5 separate regions of the Homo sapiens genome follow, and regions 2, 3, 4 and 5 are each linked to region 1. The links are contacts of gene promoters, found by promoter capture Hi-C in blood cells and fetal thymus (Javierre and others, 2016). All regions are on one chromosome and are shown on one strand. Each heading gives the region's core, a stretch centred on a gene start or on the middle of the fragment in contact. The rest is flanking DNA. Distances are from core to core; before and after follow the strand shown.

Region 1 (6,276 bases), core at 1,941-4,440:
TTACAGGGAAGCATATACTAAAATAAGCAACTTACTATTACAAGCCTGGATGGCCAAGGCTCTTGTTTCACTAGCCTAAAAAAGAGAAGGTCACATGATTTTCCCTGGAATTTTTTTTCCCTACCCAGACATTTGTTCTTCCCTGGGACACAGGGATAGGGCAACTACAGTAAACTTTTAATCCACAAGGTAGCTGGTGACGTCTCGCAGCCCTCCAACCTGCTAAGTAGCTAAACTGGTGGGTTAGACATTTGCAGCTGTGCACTTAGAACTGGCATTTAGTACCTAGACTGAGGTATTCATGATGACAAACAGCAACTGGAAAAGTAAGCCCAGAGCATCTTAAAACTTCAAAATGTATTTTGTAGTGTTATTGTTTTTAAACTTTCTTCACATAAACTTTTTCACATAAATATAGATGTGTTTGGCTGCGAAATGAGGTTTGTAAAGTTTGCAAGTAAGGAAAGAAATACTGTAACTAGAGTCTTATAACATTAATGCAAAGTGACAGCAATTTAAAGTAATTTTCAAACATAAGCCCTGCTCCTGGACCAGAAGAATTCTACATATGAGAAAATCACAGAGTGATGTTTTATGTGATGTTTTACGTGATTGATCAATGGCCACAAAAGACTCTGAATCAAGGAATTTAGACTTAGACCTTATTTCATCCATAAAGTCTTTCTGTAGAAACAAAATTCTAATCACCACTCATGGAAACAGAGCTTGGGACAAATATTTATCATTAATCAAATTTAAAATGTACCCAAAGTAGGCTGGGCATAGTGTGTCACATCTGTAATCCCAGCATTTTGGGAGGCTGAGGTGGGTGGATCACTTGAGGTCAGGAGTTCAAGACCAAGCTGGGCAATGTGGCAAAACCCCGTCTCTACTAAAAATACAAAAAATTAGCTGAGTGTGGTGGTACACGTTTGTAATCCTAGCTACTTGAGAGGCTGAGACAGGAGAATCGCTTGAACCCTGGGAGGCAGAGGCTGCACTGAGCCAAGACCACACCACTGCACTCCAGCCTGGGTGACAGAGCAAGACTGTCTCAAAAAAAAAAAAAAAAAAAGTACCCAAAGTGTATAGCACAAGTACCAATCACGAAGTATGAGCGTAGGGGACTGGTAAGGGTTTGCTGTTTTCACCTACCTTCTTTGGAAATACTGGATCCCAAATTCAGCCTACATTTATAGAAAAAGACATGGCAATACACCTAAATGTATTCAGTAAGGGGCTTGACTTATTTTAAAATCCAATGTCATACCCTCTGTGGCTCAAAGCAACTGACTGTGACAAGAACTTTTATTTATAGGCAAGGCAAAGCTGCCCAGCAGAGCTTCCATCCAAGAAAATAAAACTAACAGTAGGGAGTAAGGAAATTAACTTTCAAAGCACCCTACCGTTTTGAAAATAACATTCTTATTCAATTTCTGTAGAAAGCTGGGACTTTGCGTTATTTAATGGCTAGAGTATAAATTAACACCCTTTTTTGTCAAATCTAATGATGTTACAAAGCAGAATTTAGAACATTTACTACTTACAAGCAAACTAACCCCCTTTCTTAACTTGTGTTCAATTGGGAAGGAAAACATCACCCAGGCATTTCAACAGCCATGCCCTCTTGCAAAATGTTTCTTACAGAACATCAGGATTTTATCTATACCAGCATTTTTATAAACTGCAGGTCTCAACTCATGAGTGGATCCTAAAACGCAATTCAGTGAGTCACAAGCAGCTTAGAAAAAAAGGACACAGAAAATTGCACATGATATTTTGTGAATAGTGTATGTGTTATGGGTATTGGGTGATGTTGCAATACATATTTCGTATTGTGGATTGTGGTCAAGAAAAACTTGAAAGTCACTCAAATAACCAAGCTGTAGAGCTACTCGATTACATGATTACACATATGGGTTTTTCAAACAAAGGCATATTGTTCAGCACCGGGTGTTTTTAAACAGAAACATAAAGGGAATGGAAGCCAGGGTGGCTAATGGTACATAATGGCCTTAATTACACCACTGAAGGATCAATATTAGCGTAGCTCAGTCACCAGCAGCCAAGGCACAGAAACTGGTACAGCAGGAAGTGGGAAACTGGGAATCGGTCATCCCCGCCTGATGCTCAGGGTGCACATTCCAAAAAGATGATTCCATATGGTCCCCAGGGCTCGCTTCCATGAAAATAGGGAAAGAAACAGGCGTTTGCCTGTAAGTCACAGAATCCTGCAGATGCCTGAAACACACTTCAGCCCAGCTCCCTCTCAAAGCCCAAATGTGAACATCGAAGTAAAACATTAAAAATCCACTCAAAAACAACAGGGTGGAGCTCCTGTTTCCTGGAGAGAAAGCAGTCTGCGCCCGGGAAAAGAGTCTTGGACTCCGAGAAGGAGATCCTGCCTGGCTGGGTGGGCGATGTGAAAACAGCCAAAGAAATCCAAAGGTTTCTTCCATCCAGAGCGGGCAGGCACGATGCCCTGCGTCGGGGATGGGACAGGGGCTGGCCTGGCCGCAGGGATAGGCTGCCTCTTTGTCCGAGGCCCTGCCCAGATGCCACGTTGAGATGCTCAAGGACAAATGGGAAAGTTTTTCCTGTACTCTCATCTTCCTGGGCCCCAACTACAGAGTCCTGGGTCAACTTGCAACTTCCTCTCCTTTCTCATCTCTTTCTTTTGGCCACTGTCTCTCTTCCCCAGACACCCACTTTGGTCACTGGCTTTCCCACCGCCCTGCTCCCCCCATATTCCGTGGCCCCCGCAGCCCCACCACTCCCTTTGCGAACTCCCTGCTTTCACCCTTGGCCCAACCTTGTCGCTCTGGGAGGACACTGGGAGTGGGGTGGGGTGGGGGGTGCGGCAAACCCCACTGAAGGGGTACGGGGATAACAAGATCCCAATGCGTCCGAAGCAGACACCGGCCCTCCCGCCGAGGCCGCCTCGAGGCGGAAGCCACAAGCTGCTCTCAGGACGACACCCCTGGGTCCTGACACTCTGTCCCCCACCTCCCTGGCAGGGGCCGAGTCGCAGCTTACGTGCAGTCCTGGTTGAAAGAGAAGCAGCTGAGCGCCGACTCAACCCCGCCCGGGGGAGCGTCCGCGGCCTCGGCCTCCATCGGGGGCTCGGCCCGGGAAGCCGCAGCTCGGAGCCGGCGACAGCCACCTCAGCAGCCCGCCCGCGCCGGCTCCACGGGCCGGGTCGCCGGTCCTGCCCCGCCCCTACCCCGCCCCGTCCCCACCCCGCCCCTACCCCGCCCCGTCCCCACCCCGCCCCTACCCCGCCCCGTCCCCGCCGCGTCCCCGGCTTCGCCCCGCCCCTTCTCGCCCCTCCAGCTGGTCCCGAGGACCAGAGCACCTGATAGGGCGGGGCCCCTGCCTCCGGCCACCATTGGCCACGAGCCCAAGCCACGGCTGGCGGGCACCGCCCCCCTTGGCCAATCCGTGGCAGCTGTGGGCGGACCCGCCCGGCTGGCGACCCGCCCCTGGCTTCGTAACGCGGCTCTCCATTGGACAAAGGCGCGTGACGCAAAGGCAGCAGGCCCACGTGGCGGTGTTTTCATTGCCGGAGCCGCCCAGCTGGGAGGGAGAGGGAAGAAGGAATGCGGCTGGGGCCAGATCTGCTGGTTTCAGTCCGGCAACTGCGTCGGGGCCGCCGCAAGGGTGACAGGAGGACGCGCTAGTTCCCACCCCGCCCAGACCCCTTGCCATGTGTAACTCTGCCTATTAAACTTACAGAGTTTAGCAGAGAGCGTTAGACTCCAAAGCCCCACCCTTTTGTCGAGTCCTCAAGCCGCATTGAGAGAAGCTCCTGAAATGGGGCTGCCTCAGCCAGAGAGATAGCAAGTTATCTTATCCATTGCCGAGCGGTTGAGAACCCTCACTACTTGCCAAGCGCGCCGTACTATGTATGTCATCTTGAATTCTTATAAAACTTGTGTGGAAAATACGATTGTGCTCAATATACAGAAGAGGCAACTGAAGCTCCAAAGCTAAACAATTTGTCTAAAGTAACAGTAAATGGTAGAATGTCTGCATGTCTGCTTTCAAGACCTGTGCACTAAATAACTGCTAAACAGTAATTTGCAAAAACAACGTAGCACCTAGCATGCGAGATTCTAGGTTTTCTAACCAGGACAGAAATGACTGCAGCATTTGACGGAGCTGGAAGGTGGGGGGAAGCACCTTTGATCTGAAAAGTTACAAAAATGGCACAAAGTATCTAAACAAGACCTATCCGATCCGCAGCTGAAAAAAATGAAAGTGTGTGTAGGGCAGTGTAGTTTATGAAAGGGGTAACGTCTTGAAGATATAGCACAATTCAAAACTCACGTAATTCGAGATAAACCTTAACAAAGAATCTCTTTTTAAAAGCTGAGTACTGTACATGTTCCCATGCGGAATTACTGTCAATACGGTTTATGAAGCAGGAGCTCTGCCAGCTTTGGATTGTATAACTGCTGATGGATTTTTAATTCATTTTTTCAAATTTTGAGATGATATTTTAGTTATTGTTATATGACAGTCTCTCAAATCAGCATAATTCAAATTTATTAGGTTGGTGCAAAAGTAATTGCGGTTTTCCCCATTTCCCACTTTTAATACCCAGTTTATGACAAAGCTACTTTTATGTATGTGTATATATATATATATTTAACCTTGGACCTACAATAGATGAACAAAGGGCACTATTTCACCTAAACCTTTCTGGTTGGATTTCCGGTTTGTGTTTTCTGAGATGCAAATGTAACAGTTTCTTTTCTCAACTTTATTATTTTTTTCTCTCCACTGATGTAAAAAATAGTTCAGCTCATAGATTCACAGATGTTATTGCTCTTTGGCTGATTGTGAGGTGTTGTATAAACTATCAGAAGTGAATGGAACTGCTGTTTAGATACTTTGTGCCATTTTTGTAACCTTTCAGATCAAAGGTGCTTCCCCCCACCTTCCAGCTCTGTCAAATGCTGCAGTCATTTCTGTCCTGGTTAGAAAACCTAGAATCTGGCATGCTAGGTGCTACGTTGTTTGGAGAATTACATGAAGTGTACCATAAAGTTTTTAAAGTGTAAGCTGTTATTATCAGTTTGTTATTAAGAGTTTGGACTTTATGGGATAGACCTGGGAGCTGGTGTTAGTTTTTGAGCAGGAGTGTTTCATGATAAAAAAGCAGTGTCTTTGTCAGATAAACTTGGCCAGGGTGTGCAGAACAAATTAGAAGTGGGAAAAGATCTAGAAGTCTTTAGGGGACTAATGTGAAATTCTGGAAGTAAAGGGACAGGAGAGACTAGGCTAAAGTGATGAAAACAAGGCCAGAAAATTAGACCAAATCATAGAGTTGTTTTCAGGCATTGCTGTCCAGTAGATAAAATGAGCCCCAAATGTGAACTCCACATTGTAAATTTCAGTTTTCTAGAAGATACATTTAAAAAGGTAGAAATAGGCAAATTAATTGGAATAATATCATTTATTTAATCCAATGTGTCAAAAATATCATTTCAATATAAAGATAATCAATATAAAGTTACTAATCAGTTAATTCAGGTTTTAATTTTTTTTTTTTTTGAGACAGAGTCTTGCTCTGTCACCAGGCTCACTGCAACCTCTCCATCCCGGGTTCAAGCGATTCTCCTGCCTCAGCCTCCCAAGCAGCTGGGACTTCAGGCCCCCGCCACCATGCCCAGCTAATTTTTGTATTTTTAATACAGACGGGATTTCACCATGTTGGTCAGGCTGGTCTCACACTCCTGACCTCATGATCCACCTGCCTCAGCCTCCCAAAGTGCTGGGATTACAGGCGTGAGCCACCACGCCTGGCCTCAGATTTTAATTTTTTTTTAGAACTAAATATTGAATATCCGGTGTGTATTTTTCACTTACACCATATCTCAGTTCACATGAGCCACATTTTAAGTGTTCATGTAGCTGGTGGCTACTTTATTCTCAGTAGAGTCTTGAGGGACTAAATGACAGGCATGGCAACTGATGGGGAAGGGGGAGGGGCAGGGAAGAAGAGGGAAGAGTCAAAGCTGATTTCATGGTTGGGAAGGGGAAGCCCATTGGGTTGCTTTTAGAAACTAGATCTTCAGTCAGGTATTCAGGAAGTTGTATTTCATTTCAGACACTTTAAATCAGCAGCAGAACTGCATGCTTACTGGAATCAAGGTTTGGATCTAGAGCTATGGCCACGGGAGAAAAATGGTCACCTTCCCAGCCTCAGCCTTTCCTGTGAATGGTCCCCCTTATATGTTTCTTTCCAGGCTAATGGTCCATTATGGCACC
Region 2 (6,276 bases), core at 1,887-4,386, 600 kb before region 1:
GTGTCCTAAGCATTTTATGTATTTTAAAATTAATCCTCCCAACAGCCCAATAATGTAGGTACTATATTTTTTAATTATTATTTTATTTTTAATTAATTAATTACTTTTGGAGACAGGGTCTCACTGTCGCCCAGGCTAGAGTGCAGTGGCATGATCATGGCTCACTGCAGCGTCAGTCTCCTAGGCTCAGGCCATCCTCTCACCTCAGCCCCCCTAGGAGCTGGGACTACAGGCATGTGCCACCGTGCCCAGCTAATTTTTTTATTTTTTATTTTGAAGAGGTCTCACTGTGTTGGCCAGGCTGGTCTCAAACTCCTGGGTTCAGGCAATCCTTTCACTTCAGCCTCCCAAAATCATAGGGTTACAGGCCTGAGCCACCATGCCCTGCCTTGCAGGCACTATTTTTGTCTGCATCTTATAGATAAAGAGACTAAATCTCAAAGAGGTTAAATAATTTGCCCTTGATTTGCCCAAGACCCTGTGGCTCTTAGGAGGTAGAACCTGGAATTTTTTTTAGAATGTGTTTTATAAGAATATTTTCAATACCTTATTTTATACTGTAGTCTAGTTTTCAAACCTTCTTGAGAAATCTGCAACTTGCATCGTTTTAGCTGTTAAAACCAATGCTTATAACTTGGGGAGAAAGATACTATAATGGTTTCTGTTATATCTGCAGTGAGTATTTATGAAATCTTTAAAGATTTGAAATAAAGGCGTTTTTAGAAAATCTAAACTAAGTGGCAATTTCAGAAAAGTTCTGTTTCCTAATATATCAGTATCAGTCTACGAAACAGCATTCAGGGAAGCAAAATATATACTATTCGATAATTACATAAATGCAGACCTTTGAAATCACGTGACTCAGATGACTTTTTAAGTACCTGTGGGTGATTTTTTGATACATTGTCGAGGAAATCAAATATTTTATTTTTCTTAGTGGAACAGTAAAATACTTATGTTTGTCAATAAAACTGTTCATTTAAGTTTATTTGCTTTAAAAGCTATGGTCGTCATTCAAATTGCCTTTTTTGATGCATAATAAACTGCACAGATTTTAAAGATGATTTCAGGCAAATAGGATTATCTTTTTCCATGCTGTGATATTTTGAGTATTTTTCTATGTAAAATCAAGTAGGAAACTTTAAACATAGTGATATGTGTCAACAATTTTGACAAATCTGAAAGATTTTACATCTTTTATGAAAATGAGATTAAAATAATTTCAGTTTAACTGTACTTTTGTGGTAGATTATATGTGGACTCCTCATGATAGTTTTAAAGCCATGTAGAATTTTCACGCAGTTTATAGTATGCAGAGGTTTTAATTGTAATGTTACCAATTTATAGAAATTAAGTTTTCTGTTATTGCTTTTATTTAATAAGTGCTTAAAAATATGTTATTTGTATAGATTAGTGAAGCTTATAATAAAAAAAGCTTCTTATACATGAATTTATAGTCCATCTGAGAAGCCAAGACATATTCAGCATATAACTCAGAGGCCAGTTTTCATTCATTATGTAAGTGGGCCAATCTTTCTTAACTATTGCTTTTATCCTGTCAATCCTTTGCTCTGAAATTAGGACCTACTAAAATAGAAATTACCAGATTAGATTAGCATGTTTTTCTGTCACTCTCCATTCTAAATATAATTACGTGAACACAGCATTATATTTCATTTTTTTGCAGAGACAGAGTCTCACTATGTTGCCAGGCTGGTCTCGAACTCCTGGGCTCAAGTGATCCTCCAGCCTTGGCCTCCCAAAGCGCTAGGATTACAACAGGCGTGGACCACCACACGCCTTTAAACAGCATTTTAAAAATCTGTATTCATTTTCCGAATCAACTAAACTATGCTTTTAAATCTATACAGCTTTCTACTCCCCATTCTAGGTACAAACCACATATTAACTTACTGACTTCCCGTGCCTGAATTCCTTCTGTCCACGTTCAGTTCTGTATGTCCAGCAGACTCCTGGACCTGTCCGCAAGGCAGGCACCTCAAACGTGTTTAAAACCAAACTCATCGTTTCCCCCCATTACCTACTCTTCATCCAGCGTTCTCATCTTAGTAAATGGAATTACTGTCCCACCAGCTGCTCAAGCTAGAAATATGAGAATAAACTTTTTCCTTTATTGTTTGCTATGCCTTTAAAATAAATATTGAATCAGTTTCTCTCCATTCCCACTGTCCCTCCGTGATACAAGCCAGTGTCATCTTCATTAGACTAGTCAGTCACCCCTAAAGTAGTGTAACCCCCTACCCCAACCTTCCAAGATTTTTTCTTTTTTTTTTTTTTTTGAGATGGAGTCTCACTCAGGCTGGACTGCAGTGGCCCAGTCTCAGCTCACTGCAACCCCCTGCCTCTTGGATTCAAGCGACTCCCGAGTGGGTGGGATTACGGGCGGCCGCCACCACACCTGGCTAATTTTGTATTTTTAGTAGAGACAGGGTTTCACCATGTTGGCCAGGCTGATATTGAACTCCTGACCTCAGGTGATCAGCCCACCTCAGCCTCCAAATGTGCTGGGATTACAGATGTGAGCCACCATGCCCAGCCATAGCTGGATGATTTTTAAAACAGCAATTTTGATCAAGTCTCCTTTTCCCCTAAGTTGAAAAACCTTTTAATTACAATTACTTCCATTTGCCCTTAACCAAAACTTCAGATTCTTTAGCACAGATCCCTAACTTTGTACATTTAATTATCTTGCTTTCTAACACTTAAGACAACATAAATAAAAAGCAAACCAAAGCACCTAAAAACCTGTTGGCTAACTAGCTCATTCTTGAGGTCTCAGCCTATTTATGCTACTTCCTAGGGATTTCTTTGCCTGCACCCCTTTCTTTCCCTGAACCCCTTTTTCTCTTGCATCGTGAAATACTACTTTTTAAAACACCCATCCTACCAATAGTTTTTTTGTTTTGTTTTGTTTTTTGATACAAGTCTCACTCTGTCGCCCAGGCTGGAGTGCAGTGGCACAACCTTGCTTCACTGCAACCTCCGCCTCCCAGGTTCAAGTGATTCTTCTGCCTCAGCCTCCCAAGTAGCTGGGATTACAGGTGCCTGCCACCACACCCGGCTAATTTTTGTATTTTTAGTAGAGATGGGGTTTCACCATGTTGGCCAGTCTGGTTTTGGACTCCCGACCTCAGGTAATCCACCTGCCTCGGACTCCGAAAGTGCTGGGATTACAGGCGTGAGCCATCGTGCCCGGCCTAGTTACTTGTTTTAAGGTAAATATTATACACTTCATAAGGTGAGGAAAATGATGACAACTATGTATATGATACCCATGAAGTGCTGGTACTACTCTAAACACTTTATATATTTTAATTAATTTAATTCTAACAACAGCATCTTCCAGGATATGTACCGTCACCCTATTTTTCAGATGGAGAGACTGAGGCATAGAGAGTTTTAAGTAATTTATCCAAGATCACACAACTACAAAGTGGTGGGATCGGGATTTGAACCTAGGCATTCTGGCTCCAGAATGTGTGCTCCTAAGCACTACTTGGGCTGCTTGACCAAGAGCTTAGGACCTAGCTTTTGTCTTTAATTGCTGAATTGCTAGTTTTATCAGTTTCCTGCAGCTGCTATAACAAAGTACTATACCAAAAAAAAGTACTATAAAACTGGGTAGTTTAAAACAGTAGAAATTGATTATTTAACAGTTTTGGAGAATAGAAGTCTAAACTCAAAGGTGTCAGCAGGGCCATGCTCCCTCTGCAGGCTCTAGGAAAAAAATCCTTGCTTTTTTTTTTTTTTTTGGCCTTTTCTAGCTTCTAGCACCCCAAGTGTCCTTGGCTTGCTGGCAGCATAATTCCAATCTCCCTGTCACTATCTTTTCAAGGCAGCTTAGGTTTTTTCTATCAAGCACCTAACAGTTCTTCAGCCTCTTCCCATTACCCAGTTCCAAAACCACTTTCACATTTTTGAGTATGTTAGCAGCAGCACCCCACTTCCCGTACCAAAAGTTGGGAGTTTTCCAGGGCCACCATAACAAAGTACCACAAATGGGGTGGCTTGAAAAAATATGAATTTATTGTCTCACAGTCCTGGAGGCCAGAAGTCTGAAATCATGGGTCAGCAGGGTTGGTTTTTCTGGAGACTTTCAAAGAGAATCTGTTCCATGCCTGTCTCCTAGCTTCTGGCAGTCCTTAGCATTTCTTGGTTTACAAACAGACACATCACTCCAGTTGCTGCCTCTATGCTACCTTCTTTTCTTTTTCTTTTCATTTTTTTGAGACACGGAGTCTCTGTTGCCCAGGCTGGAGTGCAGTGGCACGATCTCGGCTCACTGCAACCTCCACCTCCCAGGTTCAAGTGATTCTCCTGCCTCAGCCTCCCAAGTAGCTGGGACTACAGGCACATGCCACCATTCCTGGCCAATTTTTTGTATTTTTAGTAGAGATGGGGTTTCACCATGTTGGCCAGGATGGTCTCCATCTCCTGACCTTGTGATCTGCCCGCCTTGGCCTCTCAAAGTTCTAGAATTACAGGCGTGAGCCACCACGCCCGGCCCATTACCTTCTTTTCTATGTGTCACCTTGGGTCCTCTCCTTTTCTAAGGATACCAGTCATTTGACTTAGGGGCCACCCTAAATCCAGGATGATTTTTATCTCAAGATCCTTAACTTTACATCTGCAAAGACCCTATTTCCAAATAAGATCACATCCTGAGGTTGCAGGTGGACATGAACTTTGGGGACATTATTCAACTCATTTCACTAGTGTTCTTTACTCTTCATTTCTATGGGTTTGTTTAGAAACGAAAGTTGAAACTTACTGTGAGTCATTAACCTTCTACTTAGCTAGCCTAGGTAAAAGTCAAAGAAGCTTTAAAATGTAGACATATAATATGTATGTTTGCTCTTAATTATATTTTTAGCAAACCTTTTCTTGCCAGTCTGTCTTCTCTTTGCCACCCTATGAGTCCTTGAGAATGTGTGCCCAGTGGTAACTTCAGGGAAGCCTGGCCAGTTTGGGTGAGCCTGAGGAACATGGTAGGCCTTGTAAGAACCAGAGCTTCTACAGAACCACATTATAACTCCAAAACCAAATATACATACATAATGTATATTTATGTGGAAAGCTGTTGTCACTTTTACAATGAGGACAAATAATTTTGATTATATAAACTGTATATAGGCCAAGTAACTAAGTATAAAAAAACAACTTTTCAGCCCGGTGCGGTGGCTCGTGCCTGTAATCCCAGCACTTTGGGGAGGTTGAGGCGGGCGGATTGCTTGAGGCCAGACGTTCAAGACTAGCCTGGCCAACATGGCGAAACCCTGTCTCTACTAAAAATACAAAAATTAGCTGGGCGTGGTGGTGTGTGCCTGTAAATCCCAGCTTCTTCAGAGGCTGAGGCATGAGAAGTGCTTGAACCCAGGAGGCAGAGGTTGCAGTGAGCCAAGATTGCGCCACTGCACTCCAGCCTGGGCAACAGAGTGAGACTCCATCACAAAAAAAAAAAAAAAAAAGGAAAAGAAAAAAGTTAAACAAAACAAAACAGACCAAAAAAACCCCCAACTTTTCTTTGAATGGATTAGCAGGTATTCACTGTTTTGCTGCTTTATGCTTTAATGAATTTTTCTTTCTGTGGCTTCAAGAAGAAAAATGTTAGGTCAGTGAATACGGTATAGGTTGAGTATCCCTTATCTAAAATGCTGTGGATCAGAAGTATTATGGGCTTTGGAATATTTGCATTATACTTACCAGTTGATCATTCCTTATTTATTTATTTTTTTGTTTATTTTTGAGACAGAGTCTCGCTCTGTCACCCAGGCTAGAGTGAACTGGCGCGAACTCGGCTCACTCTAGGCTCCACCTCCTGGGTTCACACCATTCTCCTGCCTCAGGCTCCCGGGTAGCTGAGACGACAGGCGCCTGCCACCATGCCCGGCTAATTTTTTTTGTATTTTTAGTAGAGACCGGGTTTCACCGTGTTAACCGGGATGGTCTCGATCTCCTGACCTTGTGATCCGCCCGCCTCAGCCTCCCAAAGTGCTGGGATTACAGGTATGAGCCACTGTGCCCAGCCAGTTGATCATTCCTAATCTGAAAATCTGAAACGCTCCAATGAGCATTTCCTTTGAACGGCATGTTGGCACTCAAAAACTTTTGGATCTTGGAGCATTTTGGATTTCAGATTTTCGGATTAAGGGAACTCCACCCATATCCTTTTATTTATCTGTGATTTAATATAGGCCTTCTTTCTTCAGAATTACTGAATGACTTATTCCTGGAATGCTGCTAAATTTTTATTCA
Region 3 (6,276 bases), core at 2,386-4,885, 560 kb before region 1:
TCGGGAGGCTGAGGCATGAGAATCGCTTGAACCCGGGAGGCGGAGGTTGCGGTGAGCCGAGATCATGCCATTGCACTCCAGCCTAGGCAACAAGAGTGAAACTCTGTCTCAAAAAAAAAAAAAAAAAAAAAAAAAAAAAAGTAAAGAAAGAGACATACTAACCAATATTTCTGATTCTCTTTTATTAGAACTTGGAATTTTAAAGCCTTCACAGGGTCACTAACACAGTATTCAGGTTTCCTACATCCACAAAGAAAGGGGTCCACCTAGAAAGAGTGGACCAAGATGGTGGAATAAAAGTCCCCAACTCATCGTGCCCCACCTTCCATCCCCACTGCCACAGAAAGGGACCCACCGAGCTCCTTTTGGGTGGGGGGAAGGGTTGGGGAGGATGCCACAATGATCTCAGTCCTTAGTAGGGCAGAAGCCACACTCTTAGGCAGGAAAAGGATTTCTGGTTATCACTGCACCTGTCATTAAGGTGATCGCAGGACCAGATGATTTCATAAGGTATTTCTTAAATTTCGAGAACCAGATAGTTCTATTTAAACTTTTCTACCAGAATAGAAAAAGGAAATTTTATAATTATTGTTTCTGTTAGTGTGAAACTGTTAGGAAACTTGATAAATAGAAATAGACAAATAGAAAATTATGGCCCTGTCTTCTTTATTAATATTTATTAATAATTAATAGCAAATAGGTGTATCTATAAGAAATCTGAAAATATTGGTATGCAGATATATTCAGGAGTAAATTTAAAGAATAAGAAACCATGGCTGAATTGGCTTCACCTTAGACACCAATCTCCAATACTAGGAGATTACTAATACCATACTATTTTAAGAAGTCAAAGAAAGGCTGGATGCAGTGGCTGACACTTGTAATCCCAGCACTTTGGAAGGCCAAGGCGAGTGGATCACTTGAGCCCAGGAGTTTAAGACCAGCATGGCCAATGTGGTGAAACCCCATCTCTACTAAAAATTAGCCAGGCATGGTGTTGCATGCCTTTAGTCCCAGCTACTAGGAGGCTGAGGCAGGAGAACCACTTGAACCTGGGAGGCAGAGGTTGCAATGAGCTGAGATCGCACCAGTGCACTCCATCCTGAGCAACAGAGCAAGATGCTGTCTTAAAAAGAAAAAAGTTGAAGAAAGGAAACCTTTTGATCATCTCATTAGATGCCAAGAAGGTATTTTATCTAAGTTCATTATAATTTATTGGGTTTTTTTATTTTTAATTTTTTTACATTTTTAATTTTTTCGTAGAGATGGGGTCTCCCTATGTTACTCAGACTGATCTTGAATCTCTGACCTCAAGTTATCCTCCCACCTTGACCTCCCAAAGTGCTGGGATTACAGGTGTGAGCCGCTGCACTTGGCCTATTTATTCATTCTTTTTTTAAACTCTTAGATAAATACGAGTATATGAAGTCTTTTTTTTTTTTTTTGAAGATGTATTGCAAACCAAATTATTATGCCTTTTGGTGAAACCCTTGAAGCATTCCCAATAACATTCAGGTGGAACAAAAAAGATACCCACTATTGGCCAGGTGAGGTGGCTCTCCCACCTGTAATCCCAGCACTTTGGGCAACCACGTCAGGAGAATCACTTGAGGCCAGGAGCTGGAGGCTGCAGTGAGCCATAATTGCACCACTGCACTCCAGCATGGGCAACAGAGTGATACCCTGTCTCAAAAAAAAAAAAAAAAAAAAATTTCTAAAAGTACCAGGAAATGCAGTTTGCCAAGAGAAATAAAACTTATAAATATTGTCAAGATATAGACACAATTATTATATGCAGTTGATCTAATTAATTAACACATACAATTTTGTTCCACGCTGAACTCCACCAAAACTGTGGCCAAACTTTTGTAAAATTACAGACCCACAGGGACAAGAGGAACAACAGAAAATACACCACCTATAAAATTGCTGAAGCAATAATGCAGGTAGACAAATGGCAGCCTACCCACAAAGGCCAAATCCCAAGTCAGTGGGGGAAAACAGTCCTCAAAAGATCCAAAAGCAGGAAGTACAGAGCCAGCCGCTTTGGATGCTTGGCTGTAGTAGACCTGTTTTATGCTGCAGTCACGCCAGATACCTTGATTGTGGTGAGCCCTGTATCTTCCAGGGTTTGCTCATGATCTCACCCACTGATTTCACCAAAAGAGGTCTGTAAACTTTCCTGAAAGCTGAAGCCAGACTGTGACCCAGAGACAAGTTTATATTTTCCTGGGAACCTTCTTTGATAGTAACAATACTGCTCTATGCAGGTAGTTTTATACTTGATGCTGAGTTTTTTTTCTTTTTTTTTTTTTTTTGAGACAGAATCTTGTTTGTCGCTCAGGCTGGAGTGCAGTGGTGCAATCTCAGCTCACTGCAACCTCCACCTCCCGGGTTCGAGTGATTCTCCTGCCTCAGCCTCCTGAATAGCTGGTATTATAGGCGTGTGCCACCACGACCAGCTAATTTTTGTATTTTTAGTAGAGATGGGGTTTCACTGTGTTGGCCAGGCTGGTCTCCGACTCCCAACCTCATGATCTGCCCACCTCGGCTTCCCAAAGTGCTGGGATTACAAGCATGAGCCACCGCGCCCGGCCTATGCTGAGTTTTCAAAAGGCAAACTTATACAGTTTGGGATGCACACACATAGGTTCTAAAAGTATAAGGAAAAACAAGGGAATGTTTAGCACAAAAGTATTGATTGCCAGGGAGTTGGACACACAAGCATCTGATGTATTGGTTGTAGATAAAGTTCTGTTTCTTAACCTGGTTGCATTTTACATATTTTTGAAAATTTTAATGAAGCAGAAGATTCCAGGAACAACAACAACAAAAACCTCCAGCACCTAGGAATAATTGTGTGTGTGCGCATGTGTGTGTCTGTGTGTTTTGAGACAGAGTCTTGCTGTGTCGCCCAGGCTAGAGGGCAGTGGCGCCATCTCGGCTCACTGCAACCTCCACCTCCTGGTTTCAAGCAATTCTCCTGCCTCAGCCTGCTGAGTAGCTGGGATTACAGACAAGTACCACAATGCCCGGCTAATTTTCGTATTTTTAGTAGAGATGGGGTTTTGTCGTGTTGGCCAGGCTGGTCTCGAACTCCTGTGCTCAAGTGATCCACCCTCAATGGCTTCCCAAAGTGCTGGGATTACAGGCGTTAGCCACCGCGTTCAGCCAAATGTAACAAGAAATATTCAAGGCCTGTGTAAAGCAATCTTTAGGCCAGGTGTGGTGGCACATGCCTGTAATCCCAGCACTTTGGGAGGTGAAGCGGGAGGATTGCTTGAGCCCAGGAGTTCAAGACCAGCCTGGGCAACATAGGGAGACCCTGTCTCTACCAAAAATAATAATTAATTAATTAATTAAAAAGCTAAGCAATCTTTAAAGCTTAACTAAAGACATGAAGGATACTTTGGGAATAAGATTTTCCATCCTGGAGCAGGGGAGGTTTGACCAAAACGATACTAATATTTGATCTAGAAAAGTTAATGTGCAAGAATACTGCACACAGTAGCTCACGCCTGTAATCCCAACACTTTGAGAGGTTGAGGAGGGAGGATCACCTGAAGTGAGAAGTTTGAGACCATCCTGGGCAACATAGCAAGACTCTGTCTCTACAAAAAAATTAAAATTGGCCAGGCATGGTCTTGCTTGCCTGTAATGCCAGCTGCTTGGGAGACTGAGCCTAGAAGTTGGAGGAGGATTGCTTGAGCCCAGGAGTTTGAGGCTGCAGTGAGCTATGATTGCGCCACTGTACTGCATCCTGGGCAACAGAGTGACAACCTGTCTTTAAAAAAAAAGAAAAGAAAAAAAAGTTATTGTGTAAGAATAGCCAAAAGGGGAAAAAATAGATGTTAGTGAAAAAGGTACTAGATATTAAAGCACATTTTGAAGCTTCAATAATTTGTTCTACAGAAGAAGCAAATCAGTAGATAAAATACAGAATCCAAAAATAGACCTAAGCATGGGAATTTAGCTGTAGTAGCATTGCACATCACAAAGGGAAAGCATGTTTGGGAAGATATCACTTAGATCTCTGCCTTAGCAAAAAACATTTAGATTGATGAAGAATTGTTAAAAAAAAAAAAACCCAGAACCCTAAAAACAAAAGAAAACGTCAATAAGAAAGCATGAATTAATTTATGTTTTTGTTGTGATACTTTCTTTTTAAACAGATAAAAAATCCAGATGCCATAGAGGAAAAAAGTGGATACATATATTTAAAATTCTGAGTGGAAAAATGTTATTGTAATCAAAGTCAAAAGACAGATGACAAACCGAGGAAAAATATTTTTACCACAAATGGAAAATTTTCTTGATTGACAAAGACCTTTTATAAATGAAAACTACTAATAGTCTAATACAAACAAGACAAAGGATTTGAATAGGCATTTTGCAGAAAAATAAATATGAAAGGCCAGTAGACATAAAAAATGATTACTTCTCTCATAATTAAAAACAATGGGATAGTATTTTTTACCTCTGAGTTTGACTAACAGTTTAGAAGTTCAATACTAACTCAGCATGAGTGAAGGTGTAGGAACGCAGGGTGGCTTTATGATTGCACTGTTCTGAAGAGTAGTTTGACCCTATATCCGTCAGCATTTTCAGTGCAAGAACTTTTGGACCCAGCCATCCCACCACTGGAGGATATAGGGGGGTACTCCCCAGGTTTACCAAGAAAGACATAAAATATTGTTTGTTACAGCTATGGCTGTGATAGCAAAACACCACAAAACCCTGAGCACCAGTGGAGTTGAAGTTGAGTTCATTCTCTTGGTTGGACTTCGTTGGCCAAGAAGTAGAAAGAAAATCTGCCACTGGCACACCCACCAGCATGCTACTCTGGGATAGGTAGCATCAGAGATTAGCCATAAGACTGCCTAACTGGCCTTGCTTCCTCCACAAAGAGAAGCCTTTGTATTTGGTGATAAAAGGGACCTCTTTGCCTCATGGACACCAAGAACACAACTGAGCACCCTGCCCAGCTTTGAGCTCCTAGGGTGTCACTGCGCTGAAGTCCTTCAGACAGTGCTCCATTCCTGGCCTCTCTCAGTGAAAATGGCCCAGTTGCCATGCTGGACCTGGCCTTTCAGAGGTGTATAGAAGCCAAGCCCTCAAAATCTCCATGAGAAATCCTACACAGTCCTCCTGGCATAGTCACCCCGCCTTACTCCTGTAGCCTGAGACTGTCAGGTTATCCACCGTATTGTGCCTACAGAGCTAGTCCTTCTCCTTAGTTCCAAGCGTGTTGGCAGAGGGATGGAATTTGAGTACATTAGCTCCCAGTGAGGATCTGCTCCCTTTCCCCTCCTCCCATCAGCTTATGAGAGACTACGAAGAGCCTATGGAGAATGTTTGCTACACCAGTTGAGTGCAGTTAATAGGCATGAGCTGTCAGCCTGGGGGAGACTGTATTCTGGGAACCTACAATCACAGGGACACAAAGCCGTCGTAAAAGTTGGGAGGGAGAGAAGAAGCCGGGAGATTGATGGGGAGTTTTTTGTGGGGGGAAAGGAGATAAAAAGACTGAAATCCCCTCCCACATCTTTTCGGCATCACTACCCCAAGTTAACAAAAGGTCTCTATTCTTTCTGCAGAGCTGTGCATGAGAAATTGGCTGCATCTGGTTAGGGTGTGATAAAAGCAGTTCTTCTGCCACTAGCGCTCTTAGAGACAAGAGCTCCTTTCTTTGTAGGTTTTGCTTCGTGTCTCTCTGAGAAATATTCTGATTCATAAAAATCTAGTCTAATCCCCTAAATGTAGAGCCTCACCACAGTCTTTACTGGTAGGTGCAGTGATTTCCTTTCCTGCCTGAGAAGGAGTTGTGGCCGATGCCTGTGTCTCATGATTTAGGTCAATATGGGCCGACCTTCCTCATCCTTCCTCTCTTTCTCGAAAGATGGGGCCCCATGGGCCCCTTTCTCTGCGGATGTAAGAAACCTGATTTCTGTTAGTAGATCTGTGAGTGCTTTAAAATCCGCAGTGCTTGTGAGAATCAGAAATACTGGTTGATAAAATAAATGTTTTTGTATTCTTTGGTCTTCGTTTTTTGGAAGGAAAAAACTCTGGAAACAAAGTATTCTTTAACAGTGACCTGGTTTAATAAATTATGGCATATCCATGCAATGGAATATTTTTTAATTCCTTAAAAAAATCTGTATATTTTGATAAGGAAAGATCTTCTAGTGTAATTATCCATTGATTAAAAACTGTGGTTGTGTGTGCACTAAAAAGTACATATGTGTGAATATGTAATGGACTATGTAAAGAGATACA
Region 4 (6,276 bases), core at 1,108-3,607, 540 kb before region 1:
TTTCATGTCTTAGTATGCACTATGGTACAGTTTATATTACTTGATTTCACATTTTTTAATGGGAGGAAATACCTTCCATTAAACATTCATTTTAAACTGATACAGCCTTCAAATGTATGCTAACGTCTTAATTTGCCAAAACATATTTGAGAGAAGCATAATCCTTTCTGTCTAATGGAGGCATGGGTAAATATGTAAATTGATCATGACTTTAGAATGCATTTTTTAAAAGCATATTGCTATAAAAAGCCATGCACGTGAAATGCATTTTTATACTAACACTAGAATAGAATACATCTGATGGTTAGGAGTTAAGAATGCCAAAGATGCATGTATGATCTTTGTTATTAATGTTAAGGCTGAGCAATATTGGAAAACTTGTCTCATACACTCAATAGGGCCTCTTTTTCCCTCCACACCATCCATTCCCTTATGCCCATCCTCCCAGGCCCTGATTCTGTGCTTCATTTTCACATTGAACTGATAGTTGTCCTCCACAGTGCTGCCAGAAAGATTCTCCTAAAATGCCCCTCTATCCTGTGAATAGTCTGACTGAGCTAAGGGACTTGGTAACTACTGCAGCAAGGAGCGGGGAAAGCATTTGTCACCTGTAGATCACATTCATGGAAAGTACTTCCCTTTACAACCCATCCAGTACTGGATAAATCTCAGAGGACTTAATATACATACCCTTTAATGCTCTTCTTTAATCTTTTATTTTGGTACAGCGCATTCTGGCTTCTGCCTTTTTCTCTCATGCCACCTTCATCTCTTTCTGTACCTCTACACCCCTTCCCTCCAGTCATAAAACACTGGATGTGGTTTCTGGGAAGAAATGTGTACTCCTGCACACTGTTCTGTTTAGCATATGTGTGCCCCTTGCCTTTGATCAGCAACCCCCATACTCTTAACTTGTCCTTTGAGACTCCAGCAAAGCTCTGATCCTCATTCCCGAGCCAACTCAGATGTCCCTCCCTTGTCCTTTCCTCTCTTACAGCTCCTTGAGAACACAGACAGATTCTAGTTTACCTCTGTGTCCCCAGCTCCTTTCACATAGTCTAACACATAGAAGATGCTCAAGTATTTTTTGAATGAATGCTTGAATGAGCAGACTTACCGTGCATGTGGTGTGTTCCTCCCTGGTGTTATTTCCATTTTAAAATAAGGATACTTTAAAGTCATTGTTTGACCACAGAGAATGAGGACAAACTTTTCCTTGCAAATAAATATTTATTTGCTTTCTCCTGTGACACTAAAGATCTCTAGGAATTACTATGGGGTATGGTCTGAAAGTGACAGACACTTTCCCCCTCTTGGGACATCCCTGCACTAGTTAACATTTCCCCTCTGATTTCCCCTTGACCTGCTCTGTCCAGGTCAGAGGATTCATAGTGCGATAACACAGTGGAGAAAGTAATGGTGTCACAAGTGGATATGGGAAGTTAAGAAGCTGCAGCAACTTTTTGGCTAGAGCTTTCTCTTTCACAGTGTTCATTTTTCCAACTGAATGCTGTCAATAGAAAGCATTGTCTTTCAGGTGGGCTCACGCCTCCCAGCACTTTGGGAGGCCGAGGCAGGTGGATCACCTGAGGTCAGGAGTTCGAGACCAGCCTGGCCAAAGTGGTGAAACCCCGTCTTTACTAAATATACAAAAATGAGCCCGGCGTGGTGGCGGGCGCCTGTAATCCCAGCTACTCAGGAGACTGAGGCAGGAGAATCACTTGAACCCGGGAGGCGGAGGTTGCAGTGAGCCGAGATCGCGCCATTGCACTCCAGCCTGAGCGACAAGAGCAAAACTCCGTCTCAAAAAAATAATAATAATATACAAAAATTAGCTGGATGTTTGGGCGGGCGCCTGTAATCCCGGCTACTCGGGAGGCTGAGGCAGAAGAATTGCTTGAACCTGGGAGGCGAAGGTTTCAGTGAGCCAAGATTGCTCCACTGCACTCCAGCCTGGGTGACAGAGCAATACTCTGTCTCAAAAAAAAAAAAAAAAAAAAGAAAGCATTGCCTTTTACATACAGAGTTGTTTGAGATTTACCTTCCACCTCTGTTAGAAGAGGAAATTATTTTTATTTTATAGCCTTTGTCTACACCATAATCAACCACTAAGTTCATTTAAGTAGAGTGAAAATGTCAACAAAGTATTCAGTTACACAAAGATATATAGTGAATTCCATTTTAGGACATGATATTTAATGCAGTTAAGTAAATTTATTTTGAAATACGTTTTTAGTATTTTTTAAGAATGTGTAAAACGTTTAGTACCTCCACACACAATGTTTAGAAACAAACATGAACACAGAGAGATTTGTCTGTTGATAAGTAACTAATATGGTATTGTCCTTTTTTTTTTTTTTTTTTTGAGATAGAGTCTCACACTGCCGCCCGAGGTGGAGTGCAGTGGAGCGATCTCGGCTCACTGCAACCTCTGCCCTCTGGGTTCGAGCTATTCTTCTTTCTCAGCCTCCCAACTAGCTGGGATTACAGGCGCCCGCCACCATACCCAGCTTAGTTTTAGTAGAGATGGGGTTTCACTATGTTGGCCAGGCTGGTCTCAAACTCCTGACCTCGTGATCCCCCCACCTTGGCCTCCCAAAGTGCTGGGATTACAGGTGTGAGCCACTGCGCCCAGCTGATATTGTCCTTTTTCTAATATTTTACTATTCATTGTAGAATTTGAAAACTACACTAATGCTGTTAAAGTTTTATTAGTATTAACTTTATTCATCATCCAGTTGTTCATGTTTTGAATAACCACCATTTGGATGCAGAATGTTTTTGTCCGTTTGGAAAGGTCTTACTAGATTTGTAAGATGTTTTTGGTTTAATTTAATTAATTAATTAATTAATTAATTAATTTAGAGACAGAGTTTCACTCTTGTCGCCCAGGCTAGAGTGCAATGGCATGATCTTGGCTCACTGCAGCCTCTGCCTCCTGGGTTCAATTGATTCTCCTGCCTTAGCCTCCCAAGTAGCTCGGATTACAGGCATGCACCACCATGCCCAACTAAGTTTTGTATTTTTTGTTTTGTTTTGTTTTTGAGACAGAGTCTCGCTCTGTCGCCTAGGCTGGAATGCAGTGGCCGGATCTTGGCTCACTGAAAGCTACACCTCCCAGGTTCACGCCGTTCTTCTGCCTCAGGCTCCCGAGTAGCTGGGACTACAGGCACCCACCACCGCGCCTGGCTAATTTTTTGTATTTTTAGTAGAGATGGGGTTTCACCGTGGTCTCAATCTCCTGACCTTGTGATCTGCCCACCTCGGCCTCCCAAAGTGCTGGGATTACAGGCATGAGCCACCATGCCCGGCCCTAAGTTTTGTATTTTTAATAGAGATGGGGTTTTGCCATATTGGTCAGGCTGGTGTCGAACTCCTGACCTCAGGTGATCTGCCCACCTCGGCCTCCCACAGTGCTGGGATTACAGGCGTGAGCCACCGCATCTGACCTCATTTTATTCTTTTAGAAAATTTAAACATTTTCAGGTTTCTTGTTTTTGCAAAAGTTAGGATTTTTCCTTCAAAACTCCTTTATCACATTTAATAACAATTATCTATTTCTCTATATTTGGTCCCCAAAATTTTCCTAACAGATATTTTGGAATTAGGTTAACTTTATAAAGTCTTCATGAATTTTTGCCTTATCAACCTTACAATGAAACATTCTCATTTTATAAACTTATATGGCATTTAAAATGAATATAGCCCCTTTTAAAAAAAAATGTTAGGTGCGTGTTATGCCTATGAATGAAGAAGTTTTTCTTTTAAAGGACATATAATACCAAAGTCTTACAAAACCATATTATAAATACTGGAGTCCTAATGAGGACAAGAAACACAGCCCTTCAGTTTAGTAGAGTGAATATGAATGTGTATGTGTATGTATATACATATAGATATATATGGATTTCTTTGGTTTTCCTTTCAGGTATAGACTTCAGACAGTAAAGTCCTTAGCTGGAGTGAGCCTGATGTTACGGTTACTGTGGGCAAGTTTGAGATGGGATGATATGGCGGCCAAGGCTCCTCCAGGAGGAGGGACTACACGGACAGGTAAGGGGGAAGGGAGTTATTTTCTAATTTAAGTTTAAAAGCTAAAATCACAGGCCAGGCGTGGGCGCTCATGCCTGTAATCCCAGCACTTTGGGAGGCTGAGGCAGGTGGATCATGAGGTCAGGAGATCCTGACCATCCTGGCTAACATGGTGAAACCCCGTCTCTACTAAAAATACAAAAAATTACCTGGGCGTGGTGGTGGGCTCCTGTAGTCCCAGCTACTCGGGAGGCTGAGGCAGGAGAATGGCGTGAACCTGGGAGGCGGAGCTTACAGTGAGCTGAGATTGTGCCACTGCACTCCAGCCAGTGCGACAGAGTGAGACTCTGTCTCAAAATAATAATAATAATAATAATAATAATAATAATAATAATAATAATAAAATATAATGCTTGTTTTTTAGAAATACAGTTTTGGCCATGTGTGGTGGCTCTCACCTGTAATCCTAGCACTTTGGGAGGCCAAGGCAGGAGGATCACTTGAGGCCAGGAGTTTGTGACCAGCCTGGACAACATAACGAGACCTTGTCTCTTCAAAACTCTAATTTAAAAAGAAAAAAATCAACTAGGCCTTGTGTTTGTAGTCCCTGCCACTTGGGAGGCTGGGGCCAGGAGGATTGCTTGAGCCAGGAGTTCAAGGTTGCAGTGACTGTGGTCCACTAATGTCTTCCAGTCTGGATAACAGAGCAAAACCCTGTCTCTTAAAAAAAATTTTTTTTTCACATACAGCTTTGTTGAAGTTTGGCACATGCTATAAAATCCCAGGGGCCAGAAGGGAAGGTTCAGATTATAAAGTGAGTCACTTATGTGTGAACCAGTCTACATTTTTTAAAAGATATTTATGATTGTTTAATTAAAAATTTAAACTAAGACTTCTGGAGGCCTGTGCTTGCTGCTTCTGTCCTAGGCTTTTTATTATTTTGATTGAGTATTGCCACCAGGAGCTCAGCTATACCCAGCAGCATTTTGTTTCGTTTAGGAATTTGCAGCGAGGAAGAAGCTCAGTATTGTTGCAGTCTAGCAGTGATCCTGCTAGATGTTAGTGATCCTGTTAATTAAGTCAGGTGTTTCCAAAAGTTTATTCCACGTGTGTCTCTTTTTGAAAGCACCAGATGTACCTTTTTAGTCTCTGAGTATTTCAGTTGGTTATTAATACTATTGAATTAAATCACCATAGAAACATCCGAAACTGAAATCACAACAACAGAAATAATTAAGAGGAGAGATGTTGGTCCTTATGGCATTCGATCTGAATATTGTATCAGGAAAATCATTTGTCCCATTGGAGTTCCAGAAACACCAAAAGGTAAGAAATAGAATTCTATTCTTTCATGATTAACCTGTTAACCATGTATTTTATGAATTGAAATTTGATATAATTTTTTCTTCTCTGTTCACCTTTTAAAAAAGACATATTTTACAACTACCAAATTTTGAAAATGATATTAAAGTAATAAACATATCAAGATTCTGGTAGACACACATCGATGCCTATAAGCCTTGTTCTAAGCACAGCAAAGGGCTATAATAATACCTCTTGTAATTAAGATGTGAGACATTGATTGACCCCAGACCAGCAGCTCCTGGAGAGCAGCCATCTCGTCTGTCTGGTTTATTGAAGTCACGGCAGCTAGTACCGAGTCTGATATGTAAGTGGGTCAATAAAGGTTTCTTAAGGATTAAAACTACTGTGAAATACTTCAGTGCTCAAGGTAGAGATAATCCAAGAGGCATAAAGAGTTACTCAAAAAATGTTTATAGAGCACCAGTACAATAGGCACTGGGTGGCAAATACATAGAAGAATGATATTTGGCCCCTAATCTCAAGGAAGCAAAGTAAAGCTTATAGTATTATAATATCAGTGTTATATGTGTTGCAGTAAGCTAAGAGAGTAATATTGGAAAAGAAGATTAACACTAATTTATAGATAATTATGAATGTCTACTTAGAAAATTCATGAGAATTAAAAGTATTAGCACTAATAGGAGTTCATTGTAGTATCCAGATTGAAAATATATAAATTCCATTTTATTTTATATAAACAATAAAAATATTTAGGAAAAAACCTAGTAAGAAATATATAAAAGGCCAGGTACAGTGGCTCACACCTGTAATTCCAGGACTTTGGGAGGCCGAGACAGGTGGATTACTTGAGTCCAGGAGTTCGAGCCCAGCCTAGACAATGTAGTGAAACCCTATCCCTACAAAACATACAAAAATTAC
Region 5 (6,276 bases), core at 2,773-5,272, 520 kb before region 1:
TTCAAGACCCGCCTGCCCAACGTGGTGAAACCCTGTCTCTACTAAAAATGCAAAAATTAACTGGGAATGTTGACAGATGCCTATAATCCCAGCTACTTGAGGTCAAGGCAGGGAGAATTGCTTGAACCCTAGAGGCAGAGGTTTCAGTGAGCCAAGATTGCGCCACTGCACTCCAGACTGGGCGACAGAGTGAAACTCACAAAACTGAAAAAAAGAATTTTGTATAGGTATCCTTGTAGTAAGACTTTCAGAAGTCTTACTATACATACTTAGGACGTAAATCTATTTGAATAGCAAGACATAATTAAATATTGTGCTTATAAATTGAATGTCTCAATGACATATCAACAGAAGAAATTTGAAAAGTTGCCATAATGTTACCTATAGCAAGGAATTACAGACTTCATGGTTTTACAGGTATAGTTCTTGGAAATGGGTAGGAAATAATTTTCTTACTATAAAACATGGTTCCAGGGCATAAGGGGAAAGATAGATAAAATCTTTCCCATTTTACTAATTTAGCACCAATTCTAATATGAAATATAGCAGGGTTTTTTGTTGTTGTTGTTTTGTTTTAAGGCAATCGTCTTGCCTAAGTAGCATTTACCTGAGAAAAGAAAGGAAGATGGATTATTTCAGTTAATGCTGCAGGAACAATTGATAAGATTTAATATCTATTATGTGAGACAGGTAGCTACTAGGAAAGAGAACTAATATAAAGGAGAAAGTGCAATTTATAGGTGATAAATGTTTTCTATATACTTAGAAAACTGACAGTTGTGGTAAATTGCCAGAGAAACTGTAAATGCTGGTATTACTATGGATACACAGAGCCTTTGTTGCATAATGCCCTATGTAGCTGTAAGTATGTGTTTGTCTGACATGCATAAGTGAATGTGTAGTTTCCAAACCACTCTCTTCTCCAGGGTTTTGCCACTTTTCTTCCCTGGAGTCTTGAATCCCCTGTGAGGATAGGGTTTGTATGATGAACTACCCAACCCTGCCGCCTGGCTGTGCAGTGCTCATTTAATGTACTTAAATGAAAGTCTGCCTTAAACGAATTAATTCTTAGTAGTAATACTCTAAAATAGCAACTGTCATATATTCATCATTGACTCTGTGCCAGGGTGTATGTGTTTTGTACATAAGCATTCATTTAATCTTCATATAAAGCATATAAAATACTATCCCCATTTTACCGATGAGAAAATTGAAATTTAGAATGTTGAGTAATTTCCCAAGCTATTAATCTGGGATTCAAACCAGATTTATCTGATTTCCAAGTCCAGATATTCATTTATTCATTCAACAATTATTCAGTACTACCTATGTGCCAGATGCTGTTCCAGGCCCAAATGGCCATGGTTATAAACTAATCAGACAAAATAATGCCCTCATGAAACTTATAGTCTAGTGGAAAAGGTAGATAATAATGAAGTAAATTAATTATACATATATTTAAATATACTGTATAATAATGTATGAATTTTACACATATATCATGTTAAATAATGAAAAGTACTGGCCGGGCGCGATAGCTCACGCCTAATATACCAGCACTTTGGGAGGCTGAGGCGGGTGGATCGCCTGAGGTCAGGAGTTCAAGACCAGCCTGGCCAACATGGTGAAACCCCATCTCTACTAAAAATACAAAAAATTAGCTGGGCATCATGGTTGGTGCCTGTAATCCCAGCTACTCGGGAGGCTGAGGCAGGAGAATCGGACTTTGTCAAAAAAAAAAAAGAAAGAAAAGTACTTAGAAAAACTGAGGGGAGGAACGATAATGTTTAGAGTTGGGATTTGGGAATGATTTGCAGGGAGGGTTGAAATTTTAGGAAGGATGGCCTGAGAAGGACTCACTAACAAGATGAAATTTGGATAAAGACCTGAAGGAAATGAGAGAGCTGTGGAGCTGTGCAGATATCTGAGGAAAGAGTCTTTTATGAAAAAGAAACAGCAAATGCAAGGGCCCTGAGGCAGGAGTGGACCTGGTGACATTGAAGGGATGGGTAGCCAGTGGATCTCAGGGGGACCCAAGGAGGACAAGAAGTGGGAGTCAAAGGAGTTATGGTCAGAGAGGTGGAGGGTGGGTGGGTATGGGTTGTGTCTTCAGGTGTGCACAGATCACACTGGAACTTATCCCTCTTCCTACGCCACACTAGCTTTTCCTAAGATGAGATCCGGCCGGGTACAGTGGCTCATGCCTGTAATCCCAGCCCTTAGGGAGGCCAAGGCGGGCGGATCACCTGTGGTCAGGAGTTCAAGACCAGCCTGGCCAACATGGCAAAACCCCATCTCTATTAAAATACAAAAAATAGCCGGGCATGGTGGCGCAGCCTGTAATCCCAGCTATTTGGGAGGCTGAGGCAGGAGAATCGCTTGAACCCAGGAGGCAGAAGTTGCAGTGAGCTGAGACCGCCCCTCAGCCTGGGCAATAGAGCGAGACTTCACAGACCCTCGGAGTACAGTCAGAAATTATTACATTTTTGAATTTCCATTTTGATCTAAAAATAAATTGATATATACCTATTGGAGATCATCTGGGTGGCTTATAAAAATGAATCAGTACCAATCCTTTTATCTGTCTCTGCTTATGATGGCAATGTATCTGTACCAGGTGATCTCTGGAAGTGATAACTTTTCATGTATTGTTTCTCAAACTGCAATGCAAGGACATAGCACTGGGATATAGGAGTTCTCAAATTAAAGACCTTGGCCACACTATGTTATGCTGTCTTTCAGTTCATCTTGAGTAAATGAATGAGAGTAACCAAGAAAAATTTAGAAGAAAGAGTAATAATGGAAAACTTGTACTACCAGTTGTTAAAGCTATTATAAAGCCACCAAAATTAGCATGATACCAAAGGAAGCAACACAAATAGTTACAGAGGCATTATATGTGGGAATTGGCTGCATGACAGTGGTGTCATTTTGCATCAGTAAATGATACTGGAATAATTGGCTTATAGTTTGGGGGGAAAATAGACTTCCGTGTTACAACATATACCAGGACTAAGAACATTCTTGGGAGGATGTATCTGATGAGAGAATACAAGAGAACTTTACAAGCAATAATTAAAGCCAAAATTTTTAAAAAGACTAGTCTGGCCGCATTTTTTAAAATTGCAAGTTTAGAAATAAAAACGTAGATGGCAAAGTGGAAAAAATAGTTTCTAAAAATATGTATTAAATAAGTAGGAAAAGAAATGGGCAGTGTGTGGAGAGTGAATTCACAAATGAAGAACAATGACTTAAAACAGTTTTTAATGCCAACCTGTGGTAATTGAGGAAATTTAGCACTGTGATACATGATACTATTTGCAGTTGCCTGAATATTTTACTTTACTGGTGATATCAAGGTTTGGCAGGGTTCAGTGAAATAGGCACACAGAGCTGGCAGTAGTGTGAATTGGAATAACCTTTCAAAACTTCAACTTAGTACTATATTCCTACTATGAACCCAGTAATATTTTTTGGAGGGTTACTTTAAAGAAATAATCAGAAGCACCCAAAAATGGATAAGCAGGAATTTTACCATGGCGTTAGTTTAACAACAACAACAAAAAGGTGTGGGGGAAGTATTCTGAATGTCAAAATAAGTTTCATTTTACATATGTGCAGTAATATGAAGTATCATTCAGCCATTAAGAGAAACACAAAGATATATATGTGTATCCACAGATGGAAAAAAGGCAGCGAGTAAATATTAAAAGCTTGAGAAATTTGATGTTATTCAGTAGTTAGTAATGAGTCTGTAAGTGTCAAATTAGCTACCAAAAAATTATTCTTAGCAACTGTTCTACATGGGGGAAAATTCCACTTGCCTATTCTAGTTTCAGCAAGTTAAACTAAAAAGAGGTTTATGGAAAACTGTAGAGCCATTCCAGTTCAACTTCATTCATTCAATAGACATTTATTGAACAATTACTATGAAAGCATTATTTGGGCCAGGTGAGGTTGCTCATGCCTGTAATCCCAGCACTTTGGGAGGCCAAGGCGGGTGGATCACGAGGTCAGGAGATCAAGACCATCCTGACTAACATGGTGAAACCCCATCTCTATTAAAACAAATACAAAAAATTAGTCGGGTGTGGTGGGACATGCCTGTAGTCCCAGCTACTCGGGAGGCTCAGGCAGGAGAATCGCTTGAACCCAGGAGGCAGAGGTTGCAGTGAGCCAAGATCACGCCACCGCACTCCAGCCTGGGCGACAGAGCGAGACTCCGTCTCAAAAAAAAGAAAAGCATTATTTGAGCACTCTGCCCTAGTATTGAGGATATAGTGGTCCTTGCCTTCATGGCTCTCCCAAGCTATCTGTCAAATAGCTGTAAGAGAAGCTTATTATAAATGCAGTTGGCCCAGAATATTCCAGATTCTTTATATTTTGTTTAAAATTCATATGAATTAATTTTTTATTAAATTAGCACTTATTTTTAATATTATATTCCTAAGAAAAGGCAGCCTTATAAATGGCATATTTTACACATTCTTTTTTGTCTTCCCTATTATCATTTTGGTTTTAGATTTATAGGAAGAATTTTAATTGGTTTTTTCCATTATCCTACAGACAGCAGAGACTGGATAACGGTTGGCAGTGAAAACAGACTCACTGCCAACCAGGCAGGACCTTTGGATGTGGGTATATGTCTGAATGTATCCTTAGGCTCTGAATATCCCAGTGTTTTTTTGAAGATGGAAAAGAATACGTTCATGTGAGGTGTTGAATTATTTCAATTCAAAATAATGCCAAGGGTGTATAAGCATTCATAATGTTTTGCTGTTTGGGTAGGTGCTCCTCAGCAAGTGATGACTCAAATCATCAGGGGGCAGCCTGTCTCCACTGCAGTCTCCGCCCCTAACACGGTTTCCTCAACACCTGGGCAGAAAAGCTTAACTTCAGCAACGTCCACTTCAAATATACAGTCTTCAGCCTCACAACCCCCTCGCCCCCAACAAGGACAAGTGAAGCTCACCATGGCTCAACTTACTCAGTTAACACAGGGCCACGTAAGTAACATAAGCTTTATTTTAACTTTAGAGGTGATCTTATTTATTCTTGCGGTAAGTTTAAAAACATGAACTTATTTTGATACGTTTTTAAATGTGCTGATTTGAAGAAATGGTTGCTTCCTGGAGTCAAGCAGAAATACCTCTTAGACAGGATATAATAAACCCCAACTACTAGAGTAATCTTTAGACAGTGAGCTAAAACAGTGAGACAGATAACCCTTTTAAACACCAAAATTTTATTAGTTGGCTAATCTCCATGAGACAAATAAAATTTGAGTACATTAAGCTGCTTCCTTGCAAGACTCGATATTGTTAGCAAGTCTTCTAATATTGATTAATAAATTGAATGCAGCTCCCATCAAAATCCCAAGAGGTTTTGTTTTTAGTGAAACTTCACAAGCTGATACTGAAAGTTTATATGGAGGTACAAAGTATTAAGAATATCTGTACCTTTGAAGAACAGGATTATTTGCCCTATATATGATAACTTGATATCAAAACTTAGTATAGGCTGGGCATGGTGGCTTGCGCCTGTAATCCCAGCACTTTGGGAGGCCAGGGCGGGTGGATTGCTTGAGGTCAGGAGTCTGAGACCAGCCTGACCAACATGGTGAAATTCCATCTCTGCTAAAAGTACAAACAAATTAGCTGGGCGTGGTGGCATGCGCTTGTAATCACAGCTACTCAGGAGGCTGAGGAAGGAGAATTGCTTGAACCTGGGAGGCGGAGGTTGTAGTGAGCTGAGATTGCACCACTGCATTCCAGCCTGGGTGACAAAGCAAGACTTCATCTAAAAAAAACCAAAAAACTTAGTATATAATACTTCACTAATTAATATAGTGAGGTACAGACATAAGGAGAGGCAGATAGACCAACAGAACAGTAGAGAGTGCAGAACATGAACCCCATGTATGTGGACACTTGTTATATGACAAAGGTGACATTGCAGATCATTGAGGAAGAGATGACTTTTCAGTAAATGGTGCCAGGACAATTGAATATACATGGGAAACTGTGAAATTGGACCATTATTACCTCACTCTACATAAACTCAATTCCAGGAGGATGAAAGTCCTAACTGTGAAAGGTAAAACTATAATACCTTTAGAAGATAGAAGAATATCTTCATAGCTTTCCTAAACAGATAGAAAATGCTAACCATAAATGAAAAGATTTATAAATTCAACTACTTTAAAAATAAGAGTAAGAACCTCTGTTCATCAAACTCACTACAGAGAGAGTGAAGAAAATGAGAAAAGAACCAACC

What was found. The method cuts DNA at HindIII sites, captures the fragments that hold promoters and counts their contacts. A CHiCAGO score of 5 or more calls a contact.
Region 2: a contact is called between a fragment that was not itself captured here and the fragment with the promoter of WIPI1 in region 1, in 1 of 17 cell types (total B cells). The highest score is 6.6, in total B cells.
Region 3: a contact is called between a fragment that was not itself captured here and the fragment with the promoter of WIPI1 in region 1, in 3 of 17 cell types (naive CD8 T cells, total B cells and non-activated CD4 T cells). The highest score is 6.5, in naive CD8 T cells.
Region 4: a contact is called between a fragment that was not itself captured here and the fragment with the promoter of WIPI1 in region 1, in 7 of 17 cell types (non-activated CD4 T cells, naive CD4 T cells, total B cells and 4 more). The highest score is 6.5, in non-activated CD4 T cells.
Region 5: a contact is called between a fragment that was not itself captured here and the fragment with the promoter of WIPI1 in region 1, in 9 of 17 cell types (naive CD4 T cells, activated CD4 T cells, total B cells and 6 more). The highest score is 12.1, in naive CD4 T cells.

What each region holds. Positions count from the first base shown.
Region 1 is chr17:68,454,306-68,460,581 of GRCh38, forward strand. WIPI1 (WD repeat domain, phosphoinositide interacting 1) reads right to left here and starts at 3,191. Exons shown (of 13, transcript NM_017983.7): 1 at 3,037-3,191. The coding sequence starts at 3,116. It also overlaps a transcript of PRKAR1A not described here. RefSeq lists silencers at 2,931-3,610, 3,347-3,633. The HindIII fragment of the contact is 11,803 bases long and covers 1-6,276 here.
Region 2 is chr17:67,859,057-67,865,332 of GRCh38, forward strand. The region is part of intron 2 of BPTF (bromodomain PHD finger transcription factor); the gene reads left to right. Among named protein-coding and RNA genes, the nearest start is that of BPTF, 37 kb to the left of the region's middle. The HindIII fragment of the contact is 3,407 bases long and covers 1,434-4,840 here.
Region 3 is chr17:67,897,232-67,903,507 of GRCh38, forward strand. The region is part of intron 7 of BPTF (bromodomain PHD finger transcription factor); the gene reads left to right. Among named protein-coding and RNA genes, the nearest start is that of BPTF, 75 kb to the left of the region's middle. The HindIII fragment of the contact is 507 bases long and covers 3,383-3,889 here.
Region 4 is chr17:67,914,786-67,921,061 of GRCh38, forward strand. BPTF (bromodomain PHD finger transcription factor) reads left to right here. Exons shown (of 28, transcript NM_182641.4): 12 at 3,929-4,053; 13 at 5,230-5,358. Among named protein-coding and RNA genes, the nearest start is that of C17orf58, 79 kb to the right of the region's middle. The HindIII fragment of the contact is 7,070 bases long and covers 1-5,892 here.
Region 5 is chr17:67,935,651-67,941,926 of GRCh38, forward strand. BPTF (bromodomain PHD finger transcription factor) reads left to right here. Exons shown (of 28, transcript NM_182641.4): 19 at 4,789-5,006. Among named protein-coding and RNA genes, the nearest start is that of C17orf58, 58 kb to the right of the region's middle. The HindIII fragment of the contact is 623 bases long and covers 3,712-4,334 here.